2 separate regions of the Homo sapiens genome follow, and region 2 is linked to region 1. The links are contacts of gene promoters, found by promoter capture Hi-C in blood cells and fetal thymus (Javierre and others, 2016). All regions are on one chromosome and are shown on one strand. The core of a region is centred on a gene start or on the middle of the fragment in contact, and the rest is flanking DNA. Distances in the headings are between cores, read along the strand shown.

The links. Contacts are between HindIII fragments. The CHiCAGO score rates a contact against its expected background, and 5 or more counts as called.
Region 2: the fragment with the promoter of TTC33 here is called in contact with the fragment with the promoter of LMBRD2 in region 1 in 1 of 17 cell types (total CD4 T cells); the score reaches 6.9 in total CD4 T cells.

What each region holds. Positions count from the first base shown.
Region 1 is chr5:36,148,372-36,154,709 of GRCh38, forward strand. LMBRD2 (LMBR1 domain containing 2) reads right to left here and starts at 3,516. Exons shown (of 18, transcript NM_001007527.2): 1 at 3,185-3,516. SKP2 (S-phase kinase associated protein 2) reads left to right here and starts at 3,740. Exons shown (of 10, transcript NM_005983.4): 1 at 3,740-3,899; 2 at 4,400-4,671. The coding sequence starts at 3,892. RefSeq lists silencers at 2,787-2,846, 3,447-3,586 and enhancers at 2,800-3,783, 3,857-4,046. The HindIII fragment of the contact is 3,342 bases long and covers 3,130-6,338 here.
Region 2 is chr5:40,752,732-40,759,063 of GRCh38, forward strand. TTC33 (tetratricopeptide repeat domain 33) reads right to left here and starts at 3,230. Exons shown (of 5, transcript NM_012382.3): 1 at 3,093-3,230. RefSeq lists an enhancer at 3,104-3,253. The HindIII fragment of the contact is 9,414 bases long and covers 2,023-6,332 here.

The DNA.
Region 1 (6,338 bases), core at 2,266-4,765:
TTACCTTTTGCAAGGCATGAAGAGAAGAGGTAGCAATCATGTAAGCATATAAGAAAAAAGAACTAAAATTTTACTGAATTCTTAAAGATTTCATACATAGAAATTGCAAGACATTTTGATAGAGAATAATCTGTAAAGTCCTTCCTAATAATAAAATAATTTCAAAAAACGAATAGCTAACATTTAGAATGTGTTCACTAAATTTTAAGCATTGTATTAATACTAGTACCTGCCAAGCTTTATCAAATTAGACCTCACAACCTAGTAAGAAAGGGCTGTTCGTTTCCTTGCTTAACAGAAAAAAAACAGTGCAGAGAGGTTAAGTAACTTGTCCAAGTTAACAGAGCTGGTGAATGGTAAAGCTGGGATTCAAATAGAGGCATCTTTACTACAGAGCCTGGATCATAATTACATGTCTCTTCTCTAATCTAGACATAGTTTCTTAATGCAATTTAAATTGCTTAATGATTTATTTTGTTCAGTCTTCACAGGGAACAAATTAGAAACTTTCTCCCATTTCTTTTAGATATATCAGGACAGAATGCTTAGTCATGTTTAATAAAGAATTTAACGCAAACTTTTTACATTACAGATTATACTACTATTACTTGATTTAAGGGTAATATATGACTGTACTCTACATGGGAAAAGTGGAAAACATAGAGTAAATTAGAATCCGTTTGTTCTTGCCCCAAGCTGCCTATCTTAGAGCATTAAATTACAATGAATTAAAGATCTACTTAGTTCCAAGCACCATTCATTCATTTAGCAAATATTTACTGAACGCCTACTATATGGTGAGCTCTGTTCAAGGGGCTGGAGATAGAAAAATCCAAGCAAAGTCCCTGCCCTTAAAAAGTCTAGTGGGAAGAAACAGGCAATTAAAAAAAATACATTAGGGGGTGATAAGGGTTATGTAAACAGGTAGCTGCCACCACCACAGAGACTATCAGTTCTGGAAATACATTATTCAAGATTAGTTTGGCTACACATAACAGAAAAGTCCAATATAGTACAGACTTATACAATGCAGAATTTATTTCTCGTGTAAGTCTTGAGATAGGTGGTTATGGCAAGTTAGCAGATTATCAGAGGCCCAGGCCCCTTCTATAGTCCACATCCTTAGCAGGTGGCTTTAATCCTTATGTTCCAGGACAGATGCTGGAACTCCAGGAATCCTATCATCATCTAGACAGCAGGATGGAGAAACAAAGAAGGGTGGACCGTCTTCCTTTTAAAGAGATGTAAGAATCGGCTGGGCACGGAGGCTCACGCCTGTAATCTCAGCACTTTAGGAGGCTGAGGTGGGTGGATCATCTGAGGTCGGGAGTTCGAGACCAGCCTGACCAACATGCAGAAACCCCGTCTCCACTAAAAATACAAAATTAGCCAGGCGTGGTGGCGCATGCCTGTAATCCCAGCTACTCAGGAAGGCTGAGGCAGGGGAATTGCTTGAACATGGGAGGTGGAGGTTATGGTGAGCCGAGATTGCGCCATTGCACTCCAGCCTGGGCAATAAGAGTGAAATTTCTTCTCAAAAAATAAAAATAAAATTAATCAGAAAAAATAAGATACATCAGTAGCAATCACAATGCAGTTCTTTATGACCAGATAGCAACCTCTATGTACCTACTAATCTCGTCTTCAATGGACACAATTCCTTACGTTAAAAAGAATCTAATGTACCAATTTAAACTTGCATTTATTATATTAAGGCAATAGTCATGATTAGAAGGAAGGCAAAAAAAAATTATTCCCATATTAGGAAGATGAAGTATGTCTGTTACCGGGGCAAACTATCAAACTGAATTTCAAAACTGACAGGCTCTCCCTGAAGTCCTAGAGAGGATCTTGTGTTCACTAATTCAGATGTTGCAAGTATTCTAGTTCCCAGGTAACTCCTAGTAAAACCAAGACTGAACAAAGATATTTCTCATCTTTAAATTTAGAATCATCTCATCGATTAAACCTTCCTATCTATGAGATCTATATCTGAAGTGGGCTCTCCCAATTATTTTACATCTCAAAACTGTTTATTCTCATTATGGCATCTTAAATATTTTTGTTTATTCTTTCTCCTCCATTAGCTTACAGGCTCTCTCTGTTTTGTTCCCTTTCCTGAAGGAAACTATAATTTTTTGTGTCAAAAATATTTTCTCCTATGAGTTGCAATCTTCAGGGAAAGGACGTAGCTTCAAACAAAGGCAAATGCTTTCTCCTTAGCCAAAGTAACATAAAGGTCACTTTCTGTAAAACATCAGGATATTGCATTTTAAAATGCTTTCCATATAACATTAGTTTGATGAACGGCTTAGCCTAGGATTCTGCACCTAGTTCCAATCAAAACCAAGTTGTGAACAGATCCCTTCTTTACACCAATCTCATCTTTCAAGAACGAGCTAAAGGTTCATGAATTCCTTCCTCAAGAGGCAGTTACTTTTCAAGCTAAGGACCAAGCTTGAAACAAGCATATACCTGCACAAGGGAGGTTTAATTTCACTACAGAGCGAATCATTTTTTCAAGGAAACCAGAGGGTGTGTCATACAGCATCACTGAATATTCTAATATGCGATGAAGCTGTTATGCTTCCTTATGAACTTTATAAATCTTCATTTTTATGAGGCTTAGAATTCATCCCCCTTCCCTCTTCCACTGTTTTCCCGGGGTCACAGTTGTAGTATAGTTTGCCCAATGGATTTCGCATGGTCATTGTACCTGGAATATGTCACGCTCCCTACTCTTACTGCCCCCAAACTCTTCTCAGCAGAGATAGGCTGAAAGCAGCTCGCTTTTAGGCGGCGACGCAAACACACGTAGCCAGCTGAGCGACAGCAAGCAACCAAATGGCTTTGCTGGAGGCCCCCTGCGTGCACGGGTAAAGCTCGTTGCAAAATACAGTCCTTTCATTTATTCCCATGTTGCTATTTATGAGACCTGTCAAGGCTGCAAGGGCATGCGCAGCCTTCCCACCACACAGGACCCGCTGGGGTCTCCGGCTCCCCTAAAATTAAACCATTGTCTCTCGTTCCAACGGCGTGTTTAGCTGTTGTGCGTTATTTTACAGATAAAGGAAGGATCCCGTCCACAGACCCAATTCTTAGGGCCGCCTTCTCCCCGACGGAGGAAGAAGCTTCCTGGCAAAAGGACGAACAGGTGCGACGCCAGCAGTTCGCAGCCTCTCACCTGGCCGGCGGGCTGGGCTACTGTCACCACTCAGCAGCCAAGGACTTGGGCCCCGCAGCGGCGGCCACTCGGGGTCTGCCGGGTCCCCTCTCTTTCCGCCTGCTCTCGGCCCCGGACCCCAGACTCAAAAGCGCCTCACGCGTTCCGCCTTAGGCTCACCGTCCGATCTCGCCAGACAGCGTCTGGACGGGACCGGGAAACGGCGGCCGCCACAGCTGTCCAGGTTCTGGGATCCACGCTCAGAGACGACAGCGCTGGCGATCACCAGAAGGCCTGCGGGCTCCCGAGAAAGGAAAATCCGTCTACAGTCCAGCGGCTGACATTTCCCAGTCAGCCGTAGCGCCGCCCGCTTCCGCCTCCCCGCCTACCCCGTGGGCCGACCAGTCCCGCTCCCGCGGGGGGTTGTGGGTATCTCGAAGGCGGGTAAAGCTGCAAGGGAAGGAAGTAAGGGCGAGCCCGTCGGACTACGAAGCGGGACGGAAACTACAATTCCCAGCAGGCCTTGGGCCTCAGTGCGGCCGCGAAGCAGAGCGGGCTGTAGAGCCTTGCGCGCGCAGTGGGGATGGAACGTTGCTAGGCTTAGCGGGTCTGGCTGCTGGGGGCCCGAGCAGCACGCTCGGAGCCGCCGCGCGCCAAAGCGGGAATCTGGGAGGCGAGCAGCTCTGCAGTTAATGCACGTATTTTAAACTCCCGGGCCTGCGGACGCTATGCACAGGTAAACGGATTGCAAAAAGGGGAAGAGCATGAAATGGACCCTCTTAATAATTCTTTTAGGCCGCGAATATCGCTACTGGCTAATATTGTTAGTAATGCTGTTAAGTGAATGGTTGCTTAGCCCCTTCTTGGGGAAAGTGTGAATGGATGGATGCCTTAGTGCGGGGATCAGCGTGTGGTTTTATTTGGCTTCCCTAATTGGGCTTTTCTGCCACCGTTTTCAATCAGTGTATGATTGCCCTGTCTCTCTCCTTGTCTGTTCCCTCCACTGGGAGAAATTCTTGAGGCCTTCTGCAGGATCGTAAGTCAAAAAGCCTTCTCGATTTGTTCTTTTCATTTCTTCGTTTTCTTGGTAACTCGCCGCAGGCACATAAAAAATGCGATTCTGTTAGCTGCTGTGAAGGTTTCCTACAATGCATAAACTGCAGCTTCTTTAATTGCCTTGAAATTATTTATGGGTGTGTTTTCGAAAGGAACCGGGGGTATTGTGCACTTCTGCAGGAAGCACCTCCAGGAGATTCCAGACCTGAGTAGCAACGTTGCCACCAGCTTCACGTGGGGATGGGATTCCAGCAAGACTTCTGAACTGCTGTCAGGCATGGGGGTCTCCGCCCTGGAGAAAGAGGAGCCCGACAGTGAGAACATCCCCCAGGAACTGCTCTCAAACCTGGGCCACCCGGAGAGCCCCCCACGGAAACGGCTGAAGAGCAAAGGGAGTGACAAAGACTTTGTGATTGTCCGCAGGCCTAAGCTAAATCGAGAGAACTTTCCAGGTAAGGACATGAGGGTAAAAATGTCAGTTATGCAAAGGGTGGATTTAGCTATGTTGTTGGGAAACCTTTGTTCAGAGATCTTTAGCATGGGTTCCTTTTAAGATTGCCTAATTCTGAAGCTATTTTTCAACAAAATAGGGCAAGTCGTCAAGTATGCAGGAATCTTGGTAGATATATATATATATATATATATATATATATGTATGTTCTGGTGCATAATCACCTTGAAAATTTTAACCCATGAGAAGACATTCCTGCCTTTTTCCTTAGAAGGGAATCTGCCTGCCTCAAGGCCAGCTCAGTTTCACCGTTTAACAGAAACATAAACAGTGGTCTTCTTGTAGGATTCCTTTTGCTTTGTACCCCTGAGTGATCTTTTTGCCTTAATCACTTTAGTTATTTATCAGTGGACTGCGAAGTGAACGTTCACCTAAGTGGGGGAGACATCTCCCCAGGCCCACTCCCACCCCCATATTGGCTTCTCCTGGTATGTTCTGTCTCCATTACTGCTGACACTATCTGTTTAATCACCCAACCCGAAAACCTGAGAGTCAGTCAGCTTCCCACCGCCCCCCAACATCCAGTCATTCATCGCATCTTTCCCTCTTCTCTGGTAACTATTTCTCAAGTTCTCGTCGTCTCTTGCCTGAACTATTGGAGTGGATTCATAATTCCAACCTTCTTCTCCCCAGATCTATCCCCCGAACTAGAATGGATTGACTGAAATGTAGAACTTACTGTATCTTCCCTCCTTAATAGCTCCCCATCCCCTAGTTCCTCAAGCAGGCGAACGAGTGCCTCCCAGAGTGAACCAGAACCCTGGAGTATGCAAAAGCCATAGGATAAACAGGGCATTGACCTGGGGTTATCAGTTTTTCTTACTAGTAAGCTATTTAAAACAGTAATACAGCAAATATTTGCTGAGCACATACCATGTGCTAGGCCGTGTTCCAGGTGCTGGAGATAGAGGAGTGGGCACAACAAACATTTCTGCTCTCAGGGAGCATCCATTCTAGTGAGAGAATACAATAAACACAATAACTATTTTTATATAGTATGTTAGAAGGTGATAAGAGCTATGGCTAAAAACAAAAATAGAACAAGCCAAGAGGGAATGCAGGTCTTGGGGTGGGAAGATAGAGTGCACTTTTAAACCAGGTATTGAGAGAAAGCCTCAATTGGACAGTGACCTTTAAGCAAAGACATAAAGGAGGCAAGGAGTGTGCCATGCAAATATCTTGGAGAAAAGAGCTCCAAGCAGAAGGAACAGCCACTGCAAAGACCCTGGTGCATAAATGTGACGTATTTGTTCCAGGAACAGGGAAGCCATATTCTAAGAGTGGAATGAGCGAAAGGGAGAGTCGGGGGAGATCAGGCTGGAGGTAATGTTGAGCAGAGTTGTGATGGGACCTGATTTAACCTTCTAAAAATGACACACTGATGTGTTGAGACTCAGCTGCAGGGGCATCAAGGGTAGAAACTTAGGGTCTTTTTTAAATTTCATATTTTCAAGACGGAGTCTTGCTCTGTTGCCCAGGCTGGAATGCAGTGACCTGCTCTTGGCTCACTGTCTTCACCTGGATTCGAACGATTCTCCTGCCTCAGCCTCCTAAGTAACTGAGACTACAGGCATGCACCACCACGCCCAGCAATTTTTTTATTTTTTG
Region 2 (6,332 bases), core at 1,980-4,479, 4.6 Mb after region 1:
CATCTGAAATATTTCAAGAATTACCAAAATGTAGCACAGAGACACTAAGTGCACACATGCTATTGGACAAATAGCACGAAAAGACTTGCTGGACACAGGGTTACTGAGCACTTGCAATGTGCAAAAACGCAGTATCTATGAAGTGTGATAAAGTGAAGCACAATAAAATGATCCCTGTAATCACTAGAAGGAAGGTGAGAAAAAAAGTGAGGGTGGCTATGAGGTCATTCACATGGAAAGACCTACCGTAATGGCAGAATTTGGAGGGGTAAGAAAATTGTGAGTCGTATGTCTGAGTTCTTAATGAATATGAGAGAGTGCCAATAAATCACAGCAATCAAGAAATATACAGGCTGGGCGCGGTGGCTCACACCTGTAATCCCAGCACTTTGGGAGGCAGAGGCAGGCGGATCACCTGAGGTCAGGAGTTCAAGACAAGCCTGGCCAACATGGTGAAACCCCGTCTCTACAAAAATACAAAAAGTACCTGGGCATGGTGGCACATGCCTGTAATCCCAGCTACTTGGGAGGCTAAGGCAGGAGAATCGCTTGAACTTAGGAGGTAGAAGTTGCAGTGAGCCGAGATTGCACCATTGCACTCCAGCCTGAGCGACACGAGCAAAACTCCATCTCAAAAAAAAAAAGAAAGAAAGAAAGAAAGAAAGAAATATACAGGCTGATAATATAAGTGAACCACAAACTTTCCACAGGAACTGAGATTTTTTTTAAAACCTGGAGGACTAATGGATTATAAACTGTGCTGGGGAATAAGGACAATGCAAACTCTCTCCCCAGGCCGATCATATTATAGGAGAATGAGTTTCCCATGTTTGAAGATGACTATGAGTATTGTAGGGGAAGATGGCTGAAAACAGAAGTGTGGATACTATGGAACAGAAGTTAAAAGGCACACAGTGAGGACAACCTGAGAAAATACAGATCATTAGGAAAGACTCACAAGATATCAGTGTAAGACAAGATAAAAAGAAGTCTTGTATTTATGATTATCCCTAATGGTAACAAGAATGATGACCACGTTTTCCGGTTTCAAGATTCCAAATGAAACTTTCTTTATTCATAAGGTGAGGCACCAGGCACTGTGGGAACCCTACTCATACTAAAGGACACCTAGTGTGTTTACTGGAGGTAAACTACAATAAAAATCATTGATCAAAAGAAAAAAAAGTAAAAAAAAAAACCGTTGATCAGATCTGTAGATTACATGAGGGGCTGTGATAGGGTGGGAAGGAAAGGAAAAAGTGAGAAACAGACCCACACATCTTTTAAAATTAATAGGTCATTCAGATTCCAATTACCCTCCCCATCTTCCAACCCAAACCACTGTTATAAATGCTGGGGACAAGTATAAGTTATGGCCCAAGGTGGTGGCTCTCAACCATATGTGAAAAAACCACGCCACTATTGCCTCAGGTGTTTGAGCCATTCTCCTCCACAGATCCCTTGAGACCTAGAGATCAGGGGCTGCAGAGGTCAGGACAGACTGAGGTTATGAGGGTGTGGGAGGCCTGATGCCACTAGCAATCGACAAGTTTAACCTGAAAGAGGGAGACAAAAATACAGTCCTCTCAGACAAAAAAAGGAGTTAATATTGAGTGAAACATACAGGCAAGTTCAGGGATGGAGGGAAAGGAAAATGAGGAATTTCATGCCCCAAGCTTCACATTTCTCCAGCAAACAGCGGCTAGTCATCTGCTCAAAGTAAAAGGAAAATAACAGATCTGAGTTCTTGAGAAAAAGGGAAAAGACTAAAATAGTCACTGTGGAGATAAGGAAAAGCAACAAAGGAAAAATAGAGATACCAAACAGTAGTATCAAGGGCCCACTACTGTGTAAAAGCATGAATCTGTTATCAAGGCCATTAGCAAAGTTTTATATTTTCTTCAAAAGTGTCTGGAAACCACAGAGTACAGTCAATTTCATACACGATATGTGCTACAAGAGAGTAAACAAAGGATGCCATGACATCAGAGAAGAGACACTTGAGGCTTTCTGGAGGACTTAAGCTTTGAAGAAAACTTAGCCAGGCTTAAAAAGGTATGTGAATCCTAGAGCATGCAAAGCACTTTCTGCATTAGAAAATTTAACATTCCCAGTTGTTTCAGATATCTTAAGCCGAACGAGTTTATTGTTCCTCTATGACTATCTGAACATGAAATTAAAACTTCTTATGAAGGAGGCTTTCCTGAGTCTAGTTAGAAGCACGAGGCTTCAACATCCTAGACTTAACATTTTTTTACCAGAGTAAGAAACCATGAGAGTAAACCACAATCCACACCGGTTTCATGTTAAACTCATGAAACCAGACAAATTCAACCTTTTATATAGGATTATATTTCAGGAATGGCATAACGATTCTAAACAACGACGCTGTATTCTAAATTCCTGTACTGTTACAAAGATCCCTATAGTAGGCGCTCAACAACTGGCGACGGCTTCACATTTACCCAGCCGCCAGAGAGGGCTTGTCTTGAGTGTGTCTGAGGATGCAGCACCCAAAGGGAAAAACCACTACATGAACAAGATCAGGAAATCACAACAGCATCCTTCTGGGTAAAAGGAGGTATTCAGAGGTGAGGAATCCAAGAAACGATTTACCCAAAAACGCCACCGCAAGAGAAAAACCAGTATTAGTGACTTTCCCTTCATCGGTCAACAATAATAAAAACGCTCAGAAAGGCTGCCCCGGACGTCACCTGCGCGTTCACGGACCGCCCCGGGCCGCAGACACCTCTCCAGCGGGGAGCGGCCGGCTCGTCCCGCCCGTCCCACCGCTCAGGGAAGGTTGCGGCCGCGCAGCTCCGCGAAGGTGCCACGGCGGGCCCGACCCTCAGACTCGCTTGTCCCTGGAGACCAACCCTAGCGACCAGGCTCTGCCGGATCCCGTCGGGTTTCAACTCCTATTCCGAAGGTCCTTTCTCCCCTAATCACAACACCCACTCGCCTCTTTTTCCTCCTCTTCCTCAGCTTCCACCGCCGACCGGGCAGCCCCAGTTACCCGATAACGGCTCCCAAGGCCCCGTGTTTACATTCTTTCCCACTGGAAGCAGAAATTATCACGCCCAAATTCCTACCTGCCTTCCCTGGATTCCTGGTTTCCTAAGAAACGGGTTTGGCCCACCCCTGGGCGTTCGAACAGTCCACAGAAGCGGGCAAAGGAAAGACGACTCAGTCTTTCCCCTCCGCCAATCTCTTCTCCGGGACCACAAATCCCAGAAGTCACCGCGGCCGCCCCCACTGCATGACCTTCTGGGATTTGTAGTAGTCAGGGCCACGCGGCTGGGCGCGCCCTCTAGCAGCAGCCCTGAGTGACCGCAGCGCACGAGCGCGGGAAAATGAGGCTGCGCGGGCTGAAGAGCGCACCGAGAGGAGCCGCCCCCGCGGTACCGCGCAGCCTCGCGTCCCGTCAGTGGGGAACAAGGTGAGGGGAAAACTTATTTTACGGGATTCAAAGGATTAGGATATGCTCCTTCCCCGAAGGGGTTTATAGCCTAGCTGATGAGGTCGGCCAGACGCAGAGAACAGAGAGGCAAAATTCGGTTATAAAGGGCTCGAGGCGGCCGGGCGGGGAGGCTAGTCAGGGAGGCTCGAGGCTGAACTGCAGGCTTCACGTTAAAGTTACAAGTGAGTTGGACCCAGAAGGCAGAATTACAGCCAGAACGTAGCTGTGCATCATGTCTTGAAAATAAACGAGCACATGTAATAAAGGTAATCAAGATTGTTAATTTCTCCAACTCTCCTGCCCAAAAGACTCATTTTTGGAAGTCATACTTTCTCAGCCTCAGCACCATTAACATTTCAAACTGGATAATGCTTTGTTGGGGGACGGGGTGTTCTGTGCATTGTAGGGTGCTTAGCAGCATCTCTGGTCTCTGTCCACGGGATGTCACCACCAGTCGATTGTGACAGCCAATGGTTTCCCCAGTGAAATTTCCCCTGGAAGAAAAACTATCCCTCCCACCCTGCCCCGTTGAGAACCACTGATGTCGACCAACGATTGTCCTGAGGGTCAATGACACCCTTTCAAAGCCAAAATTATTTTCATACTAATATGAAGACGTGATTTGCCCTTTGCACAATGCTGACATTTGCACTGATGGTGGAAAAGCAATGGTAGGTCAAGGTGCTGGCCCCTCCACAGGAATTACAGTAATGACACCAAACCGTACTGGAGCTCTTCACCACCACACGCTCACAGTAAGAAAAATGGGCCGGGCGCGGTGGTTCACGCCTGTAATCTTAGCACTTTGGGAGGTCAGGAGTTCGAGACCAGCCTGGCCAACATGGCGAAACCCCATCTCTACCAAAAATACAAAAATTAGCCAGGCCTGGCGGCACGCACCTGAATCCCAACTACTCGGGAGGCTGGGGTGGGAGGATCCCTTGAGCCTGGGAGGTCGAGGCTGCAGTGAGCCGAGGTCATGCCACTGCATTCCAGCCTGGATGACAGAGCAAGGCACGGTCTCAAAAAAAAAAAAAAAAATGGAAAAATGAACGCTGTCACCAGAGAATATCCCTGATGAAGTTGTAAAAGTTACTTTATTATAACCACTCCGACACTTAATATTCTTTGTAAAAACTTGGAAGTCCTCACAAAGTACTTCTGCTGCATATTGAAGTATGACGTATCAAAGAAGAGCTACTGTGAGATGGCATTATAAACTGAAGTAAATACTTTTTTTTCCTGGAACACAAATTTTACTAAGATGAGTGACAAACCGGTTATTCGGACTTGGGTATTTGACAAACCTTTCTTGAAAATGAACAAAGGGAATCTGTAACTTCAAGAAAAACAAGGAAAGGGAAAGGGGAAGGGGAAAGGAAAGGAAAAAAGAGAAATAGGGAGGGAGGGAGGAAAGAAAAAAAAATTGAGTTTGTTGCCAATGATAAAATTCAAGATTTTAGGCAAAAAAAAAATATGATTTTGGAAAAATGGTATTCACCATAATGATCTTGGCAGCTTCCCAGTATCTCCAGAATTTTCTGATATAAGTGATTATCAGTTGTGACTTTTATTTACATTGTTTGCTTAAATACATCAATATTTGTGCAGGCTGCATAAGTGAACCAGTAGTATTTGAAAACGATCAATGCATGACTGCGGTAGCCAGCCTCCAAGATGGCATTCACTCCTGGCATTCACATCCTTATGCACTGCCTTCCTATATTGTACCACGGTTGGTCTGTGTTACCTACAGAAGAGGGCAGAAGTGACCGTTTATCACTTCCGATATTAATTATGAAAGACACTAAGATGGTGGCAATGTTTCTTAATCTGCCTAGAGGTTTACATGGTCATGTTTCCTGTGTACCTGAAATACTGAAAACTCATTAAGCCAAATACTCATTTGTGCACTTTTCTGTATATATGTCTATGAAAGTCTTAAATAAGAAAACATGTACCTCCCTAACAAGACATGCAGAGGGAAGATTTATCTTATGGTCACATTCATAGTGTCATTAGTTCATAGTAGCCAATAAGAAGGAATAGAGGTTGCAGAGTGAGTAAATGGTACTTGAAGCTGTGCCCCCTACCTAGGGGTCTTTGCTAAATCTCTCAAGTAACCTAACCCTGATCTCCTCTACTGTGTTTAAGGGTAGCTCCCACTAAGTTTTTATACTTCACCCACTACTTCTCTACTAACTCTGACTGGTCTATGATCTTGATTCACCTAATATATTTAATATATGTCTTATGCTGTCTTTTTAAGACAACATGATCATTTTCCAAAATCCTTTAAATTTATCATAATTTATTGGCATTTACAGTAAATAGTTTATTTACAATAAATAAAAGAGTTCAAAAATTCTGATTTTTCAAACAAGAATTTCTTGGACAATTCTTGTACAGCCAAGGTAAATACCTACAGCAATTTATACATTCCCTAAAAAAACCTTATATACTACTCATAGCACTCTTTAGCAGTTTTCTTTTGTTGTTTTAAAGATAACAGAGTGTCAACAATCTAGCACAAGCCCCTGCCTAATCATGTCATATGGATACAATATTTAATATTAATTGAATTCTAACAGTAGTAGGATTCTAACCAAATCAAGTGTTAGCAACTGATAAATGGCAGTTGCTTTGGCTTTTATTGTATCTATCATGTTTTATTCAAGTGGTTGGTTTTTAGATGAAATCAAGACTCATGTAGTCGAGATAAAAATCACAATGTTTGACAATTTAAATGTGGCCAGGCACTATATTTTATATTTCTAGGTACTTTTTTTGTTGTTGTTTTGGTGGGGTTTTTTTTGAGACAGAGTCTCACTCTTTTGCCCAGACTGGTAGTTCAGTGGCATGTTCTCGGCTC